Linked DNA regions of Homo sapiens: regions 1 and 3 are each linked to region 2. The links are contacts of gene promoters, found by promoter capture Hi-C in blood cells and fetal thymus (Javierre and others, 2016). All regions are on one chromosome and are shown on one strand. The core of a region is centred on a gene start or on the middle of the fragment in contact, and the rest is flanking DNA. Distances in the headings are between cores, read along the strand shown. Region 1 has its middle 3.8 kb from the start of HBP1. Region 2 holds the start of PIK3CG (phosphatidylinositol-4,5-bisphosphate 3-kinase catalytic subunit gamma). Region 3 overlaps HBP1 (HMG-box transcription factor 1).

Region 1 (2,700 bases), core at 19-2,518, 300 kb after region 2:
AGAAACCTTCCTAGATCTTGCTGAGGAACAAGAGAATAAACTCTGCATCCCTGAAACTTCATCACCTCTCTTAGGCCAAGGGCTGACATTTAATACAAGTGTACTTCCTTTACATAATGACTATATTCTTGAGGTATATACAAATGACATTTTTTAAAAGCCAAGCAATATTTTAAGAAAGGTGCACACTATAAAGACATCTTTGGTAAATCTATTTTCTCATAATTGCACTTTAAAGCTGAACAATTAAATATCCTCAACATTTTTATTACTTATATTCTGTATAACTTGAAGGAGTTGAAGTGTTAATTAGGTTGGTGCAAGAGTAATTGTGGTTTTTGCCATTTTTTAAATGGTAAAAATGGTAAAAATCACAATTACTTTTGCAGCAACCCAATACTTTGTTTGCCTTTGAGTGACTGACACTGTGAGGGAAACAAAAATGAATAATAGTGCTTATCATATAAACATAGCTGAAAGATGAGACGTTCTCAAATAATAACAATGATTACATAGAGGAAGTGACAGTTAAAGTGCATGCAAGTTATTTAACAAAGTCAAATATTCAGACCAGCATCCTATATATAGTGCTACACTACGCTGTATATGAGAAAATTCATGCTGCTTGTCTCCCCTTTTTATTCATTTGTTCCACAGGTAGGTATTTTTTTAATAGCTTATTATGGACCAGACAAAAAAAAGCGCATGAGATGGTGACTGATAAGGAGAGAATGTAAATGTGGAGGGGGGACAAATGTAAGCAACAATATTCAGTTTAGCACAGTGTGATAAAAGCGATGTGTGTACTATTCCTACTTTTTTTTTTTTGAGACAGAGTCTGGCTCTGTCACCCAGGCTGGAGTGCAATGGTGTGATCTCGGTTCACTGAAACCTCTGCCTCCTGGGTTCAAACGTTTCTCCTGCCTCAGCCTCCCGAGTAGCTGGGAATACAGGTGCGTGCCACCACACCCAGCTAATTTTTGTATTTTTAGTAGAGATGGGGTTTCACCATTTCGGCCAGGATGGTTTTGATCTCTTGACCTTGTGATCTGCCCACCTCAGCCTCCCAAAGTTCTGGGATTACAGGCGTGAGCCACCGTGCCCCGCCCTATTCCTACAATTTTAATTGCTCTTTATCTGACTTAATTGCACTTAAAATGAGGTACTTTTTGCTAGCAACTAAACATAGAGAAGGTCCTAGGATACCAAATAGACGGGAGTAGAAAATACTATGTGAGAGTTTGTGTTAAATAGTTCAGATAACAGTAATGATCTCTAGAAAACTTGCAGGACATGAGAATAGTCATTTGAGCTTGATTTTAAACATCGAGAGTGAGATGAAATAGAATTGTTGCCTTCTCTAAATACATTTTCATTTATACCAAATTAGACTTGACAAAAACTTTTTGGGAAAAATTGGGATAAAAAAATGAGTACTCCTCTCTATGTCCTGAGGATACCCAGGTTTATTTCTCCAGACTTGGACTTCCTAAATGCCAGATGAATATATTCAGCTGCCCAAGGACCTCTGGACTCAAATTTCTTCCTGCACAGCATGCTTATCACCCGAGGTTGAACCTATCCTTTCCCTTCCTCCCAGTCCCCAAATCTGCTATCCTCTCCAGCATTCCCTCAGTCAATAACATCAACATAACCACCCTTCCCCAACATACTGCAATTACCCAAGCTGGAGACACAATCATTTTGATTCTTCCCTTTTACGTTGATTTTTCTTCCTAATGTGGTTATAGTGTTAAGACATTAGCTTATCAGCCACTGAAGAAAGGTCTTGCTTTCTGGTCATCGGAGCAAAATCTAAACTTCAGTTGCATCAAGAACTACAGGAACAGGAGACAGATGACTCACTTCTACAATGGCCATCATTAGCTCCTGTGGATTTCATTACAACTTGACTGAATTACCTGAGTACTTTGAACTAATTAGAAAATTAACTCATTTGAAAGGATAGTAAGGTATATGGAAGGATATTTGTTGGAGTTTAAACATTCAAGATGCTGTCTGAAAACTTTGAGAAGTACTTAGACCATACATGTGTTCAATTTCTCCATTTAGTACTTGTTCATGTGATTTCATTTGTTTACCTTTTGACAATTCAAAGTGATTATTTTCAATATCAGGCAATGCATGTACTTGAACTTCTCTGTAGTTAAGCAAAGCAGTCATTGGTGTGTCAAATATGGTGGAATCAGGGAAACACATTATTTCACTCCTAAATAGGATTTACCGGTTTTTTGTTTTTCTTCTGTTCGTTTTTTACTATCTCTAACAAATTAGAACTTGATATTTAAGATAACAGAGGTAACTTTACAAACCGCTGGAAAGACATTTTGATTTGACAATTTCTTGACATTTTTTTGCATACATTTTATGTGTGTATATGTGTGTATAGATATGGTGACTGTACCAATCAAGAAGAGGTGTTATTTAAAGTAACTGATTTTTTAACTTCAATTTTATCATGGAAACATCTGAAAGATAGTTAAAAACTGTAGTTATATCTGTTTTAGTCTGAGAGTATAATTAGCACATGTAAAAATTTCCAAGGAGATCTTACTAGTTTTGTACTTTGATCTTTGTTCTGGCTTATAAGTTGGCTAGTTTTATTGGTCACTCAATTAATGATGATGTCTCTGGTAAATACACATAAGCTACTAATGTGGTCATTTAGCCCCCCACGGA
Region 2 (2,700 bases), core at 188-2,687:
ATCATGGCTTGGTGGCTACAGTGTGTTGATCTTCCCTCAGGACCAACCAAGAAAGCTAGCCTTGGTGCTTCTAAAGCTGCCAGCCTCCTAAGGGAGTATTCCTATATAGGAATATACTTTGAGAAGCTGATAAGACCCCTCTAAATATTTGGGAGGCAGCCTTTGAATTAAATTATTTGCCTGCTGATGTCAACTATTAGAGTGCTATTTAAAAGTTAAAACCCAAGAGGCATATGTAAAAGGAAATAAGTCAAATCAATCATTTATCTCAATATCAGAGTAATTCAGAGGAACTCTTAATTACATACCTCCAAGAGACTTGTGAGGTCAACTCCATTCTATCTGCTGCCCTTGAAGCTCAGCTGGAGTCCCTCAACACCCCGATTGGAGGATGAACTCTAGCATAGGGAATTCTGAGATGGAGGGAGGGGGCGCTGGTTCAGGATGCTTGGAGGTTCTAGAAAGAACTGAGGTCACCTGGAAGATACAACGCTACTCTAAAAATGATTCAGGATGGCTTTTCTATGCATTCTCTACTCCCATAGGAATCAGGGGCCACCTCCCAGGATGGAATCTGCCTGATGCTGTAACAGTGTTCAGCTCCCCAATTTCCCCATGATAACAGGCAACCTCCTTCTGTTTTGTCTACAGTTAATTAATCAGTCATTGCTGACAGTAAGGCTCCATCCTCAACACAGGATATTTTCTGAAGCATTAATTTTTGTTTCAATAGTTGATCCTTGTTTGGAATATAATGTGTTACAATGTAGTGGTACTTAGTATTAAAATCAAAATACCTTTTTATTCATCTTTCAATTTTAATACTTTTAGCATTTCAACCATTATTTGAAGGGTTACTTACTGCAGTATGTCACATTTATATACACACATGCACATGCTGCAGTGCTTTCAGTTTGAGCCAGTGATATTTTAGGCCCCAAATGCTCTGAAAAAATAGAGAAAGCTCTCACCAAGCTAAGGAAGTGAGCTTGCAGACCATGCCTTTAAAAATTTTCAGCTTGATAACTTAGTCCTCAAGATGACTAGGTTTCTCTTCCCCCACCCCTCAGTTAGCATGTGCGAACAAGGATTCTTTTGAATTCCCAGGAGGGGAATGAGTTTAATTTGACTGGTAAAAGTCTTCCTAATAGGATACCTAATACTGTGGCTCTTAGAACTAGCTACAAAGATATTTCATATGTTTATGTCTCATAATGGGTAATTTTGGTTTGGATTTATGTCATTTTGTCTCAGTATCACAATTTTTGAAAAATTAGTTCAAAGAGAAAAAAAAAAGAAAAGAAAAACCATGGTAAACATTGCTCAGTCTCATACTCCTACCCTCTCTATGCTAAAACAGGAAATGCATTTCTGACACTTTTAAAATGAGCAATCACACGTATAATCAACTTGGTTAAAACTTCCTTCCTGGTAACTGCAACACTTCCTCTGCATCTGGATATGAAGGGAGCCCCAGAAAAGCGGAAGAATTTAGACGCACACTGGGTAGGTTTGAATTTGTTTTGTTTTCAAAAATTAAACAAATGATCCTTCAGCATCATCGCCTCCGCTGCTTTATCAGGTATTGCTTCCTTCTATTTTTTGCTCTTTGTGGGGTCTGACTCGGAATAGTGGCACTTCCTTCTCGGCTAGATTATCTGAAACTGTTGTCGGTTCTTGAGATGATACTACCACCGAATGTCTGTGTTTCATTGTCTAGTCCAACCTGTATTGTGGATATCTACAACGTTCCGGCAATAGTTTTGCAGGTGCATCACATTTTTGTTTTTGTTTTGGGAGGAAAAGGGAGGGCACGGCAGCCAGGCTTCATATTCCTACAAGTGCATGCTTCAAGATTACTGTACTTACAGTGTTTCCAACATCTTCTCATAAAAGGGGAAAGCTTCATAGCCTCAACCATGAAGGAAACCAGTGAGTATTAGTCAGCCTGTTTTCCTCTGCATCTTATAAGATCGTTTGGTATCACTGAGGCAGAAGTTATTGCTGTGTATTTATATGCTGCCTAAATTTGGACATGTTTTATTTCAAGTTAGTGTCAATATCAATGTATCTTACAGTTCTCTTCTTTGTTAGTTATTCTATAATGTAGCAAAAGACCAAAATGAATGTTTTAAGCCACAAGAGACAGTTCTTTGGGACAGTTGGTTTCACTTACTAAGTATAACTTCATATTTTAAGAGAGGGAATATTGGTTTTAAAAGTTAAGCCAAGATTTGAACATAAGTTTGGATCAAATGAAATTTGTCTTTCTTATCTTCTTATCAAGCTCTCCTTTTTGGTATACATCAAATGCTCCACTATTTCTTAAGGAAATAATGTAGTTTTAAGTCTAACATTAGTTATTTAAGAGAGTAAACGATATTTTCTGAAACATTAATTTTTTGTTTCAATAATTGATTCGTTTAGAATATAATGTATTACAATGTAGTGATACTAAACATTGAAAGCAAAATACCTAATCTTTCAGTGTTAATACCTTTCAAATTTCAATTATTATTTGAAGGATTTCCTATTGCAGTATGTCCTATTTATACATAAGTGCTTTGTGAAGGGTAGGTACTTACTGAATTTTGTGGAAAGAGTGAGTAGGTTAATGAGAATAAATTTGTGAATTTGTGTTACAAAAATGAAAATATTAGAGCAAAAAAGAAGTTAAATGATTGGGGGTCTTAACAGAAG
Region 3 (2,700 bases), core at 45-2,544, 320 kb after region 2:
AATTGAAGGGCTAATACAAATTCTCAGGGAATAAGGGAAAAATTGGAAAGATGTCCTTTCTCTCTTTTTTGTTTTTGTTTTTTTGAGACGGAGTCTTGCTCTGTCGCCCAGGCTCGAGTGCAGTGGTGCAATCTCGGCTCACTGCAAGCTCCGCCTTCCGGGTTCACGCCATTCTCCTGCCTCAGCCTCCCGAGTAGCTGGGACTGCAGGCACCCACCACCATGCCTGGCTGGTTTTTTGTATTTTAAGTAGAGATGGGGTTTCACTGTGTTAGCCAGGATGGTCTCCATCTCCTGACCTCGTGATCCGCTTGCCTTGGCCTCCCAAAGTGCTGGGTGGGATTACAGGCATGAGCCACTGCACCCGGCCCTTCCTCTCCTTTTTAAAGAGTATTAGTACAGACATGCATAAACTTTTTCTGTTAAGGACCAGATCTCTATTTGGCATCTCAGACAATTATCCTGATTTGGGACCTTACCTTCAGATGGTTTTCCCTCCTCCACCTGGCTGTCTTCCTCTCTGCTTCCTTTCCAGACTGCTGAGTCCATACACATCATTCATCATCCTCTATAGGCTTGTTTCTTTCTGTTACCCCACCCATGAATATCTGGTCTGTTTGTGAGGGAAGGATCTGGGTATGCTCCTGGGAGCTCCATATACTCTAAAGGGAGCATTGTCTGGTAAAAGAGACTTTTGAGGGGAAGAAAAGAGGGCAAGGGATAAAGTTTTTTTTTTAAGGTGATCTTTGAGGAGAAAAAATAACTAGACCTTATATGTAGTTGCTTTTCAGCAAGTTTGTATTAGAAAACAAGAAATAGTGTCCAGTTACAAGGAGGGTGGATAGGCTGCTCTCTGCTATAAAAAGTGTAAGCATTTTTGCTTAAGGTAGTTCTTGTATCTGCCCAGTGATATGTGGTTGGTAGATAAAGAGTTCAGAGTTGGTTACACTAAGCTTAAATGCTGTCTTCATACTGAGACTTACTGAGTACATCAAAGTAGAAGAAAGAAATGGATAGGACGCCCTGCATTAGAGGGGGTATTATCATTCACAAACGAAATATACACATGTATATGTATTGATAGAAAAATGAATGGGATAAATAAATGAAACCATAGTCGTAGTTTAAAATATATTGTCAAATCTGAAAAAAACGATGTCTAAAATGTGTGAGGAGGGTTTGGATAAGGAGTTAAGGAATATAATTATAAAATGAAATCTTGCTGTCTTTACTAGTGTTTACCATAAATGTGTTCAATGTAATAACATTGGCGTTTTAAATATGAAGTTCTTTCATTAATAGGAAAGATCTACTTTAAGGACCTATGCTTATGGTTGAAACTGTTGCTTTATTTTAGATCATCTCCTGTACACATCATAGCCACTAGCAAAAGTTTACATTCCTATGCACGCCCTCCACCAGTGTCCTCTTCTTCGAAGAGTGAACCAGCCTTCCCTCATCACCATTGGAAGGAGGAAACACCAGTAAGACACGAAAGGGTAAGTTTATTTATGAGGTTAAACTTTTACAAAGTTTGTACAACAGTTGAAGTACATTAACATTCCTCATAGGAAGTAGTCTCACTGTTCTGTTAGTGATCTGGATTTGATTTTATATACAGCTCTGCTATGTGTTAGGAAAGCTTATTATTAATGGGAATGTGCGTATAACTAAAGCTTCCAAAAACTTTGTTTTGTGTGTGTCTTTTTTTTCTTTTTTTTTCTTTTTTTTTTTTTTTTAGCAAATTCTCCCACAGCCTGACAACCCTCAGTTTTTGAAGGCATTATATTTTCCCTAAGGTTAGAATTACTAAGTTATCCACCTATAAGCATGGGCCTAAAGACGTGGGATGAAAACAGATATTAAAAGGTATATTTTAAAAACAAATAAAAAAGTTGATAATATTTTTCTCCATAGGCAAATAGTGAGTCAGAATCTGGCATTTTCTGCATGTCCTCCCTGTCAGATGATGATGATTTGGGATGGTGCAATTCCTGGCCTTCAACTGTCTGGCACTGTTTTTTGAAAGGTAAAACAAACAAACAAACAAAAACCTTGAATTTTCCACAGCTTACTTGTCTAGTACAGTCACGTGTCTAATACGTGTTTTCTACCTAAACCTTAGGCACACGACTGTGCTTTCATAAGGGAAGCAATAAGGAATGGCAAGATGTTGAAGATTTTGCTAGAGCTGAAGGCTGTGATAATGAGGAAGATCTTCAAATGGGCATTCACAAGGTTGATTTAAAATTCTTAAAAAATTTTTCAAAATCTTTCCAAATGAAACAAGATTTATTGTTAATCTACAGAAATATCCTCCATTCACTTTGATATTTAAATGACATCGTACATTTTAGGTAGAGCATTTTTATGACCACTCATTGCTTAGTCTGATGGGGAGGAGCAATGATTTTAGGTTTGCCTTTCTAACATGCTTTCTTGGATGGGAAATAGTATATTTCTTGGTGCTTCTTCGTGTTTTATACACTTTACAATGGGGAAAACTGGTATTAAAAATATGTAATGAGGTCGGGCGCAGTGGCTCATGCCTGTAATCCCAGCACTTTGGGAGGCTGAGGCGGGTGGATCACGAGGTCAGGAGATCGCGACCATCCTGGCTAACGCGGTGAAACCCCACCTCTACTAAAAATACAAAAAAATTAGCTGGGCGTGGTGGTGGGCGCCTGTAGTCCCAACTACT

The links. The method cuts DNA at HindIII sites, captures the fragments that hold promoters and counts their contacts. A CHiCAGO score of 5 or more calls a contact.
Region 1: a contact is called between a fragment that was not itself captured here and the fragment with the promoter of PIK3CG in region 2, in 10 of 17 cell types (naive CD4 T cells, naive B cells, total B cells and 7 more). The highest score is 10.0, in naive CD4 T cells.
Region 3: a contact is called between a fragment that was not itself captured here and the fragment with the promoter of PIK3CG in region 2, in 4 of 17 cell types (naive CD8 T cells, neutrophils, naive CD4 T cells and 1 more). The highest score is 6.0, in naive CD8 T cells.

Annotation. Positions count from the first base shown.
Region 1 is chr7:107,163,811-107,166,510 of GRCh38, forward strand. No RefSeq gene overlaps it. Among named protein-coding and RNA genes, the nearest start is that of HBP1, 3.8 kb to the right of the region's middle. The HindIII fragment of the contact is 5,231 bases long and covers 1-2,700 here.
Region 2 is chr7:106,863,845-106,866,544 of GRCh38, forward strand. PIK3CG (phosphatidylinositol-4,5-bisphosphate 3-kinase catalytic subunit gamma) reads left to right here and starts at 1,438. Exons shown (of 11, transcript NM_001282426.2): 1 at 1,438-1,582. RefSeq lists an enhancer at 1,510-1,609. The HindIII fragment of the contact is 4,956 bases long and covers 1-1,901 here.
Region 3 is chr7:107,184,445-107,187,144 of GRCh38, forward strand. HBP1 (HMG-box transcription factor 1) reads left to right here. Exons shown (of 11, transcript NM_012257.4): 4 at 1,357-1,498; 5 at 1,917-2,028; 6 at 2,125-2,237. Among named protein-coding and RNA genes, the nearest start is that of HBP1, 17 kb to the left of the region's middle. The HindIII fragment of the contact is 689 bases long and covers 951-1,639 here.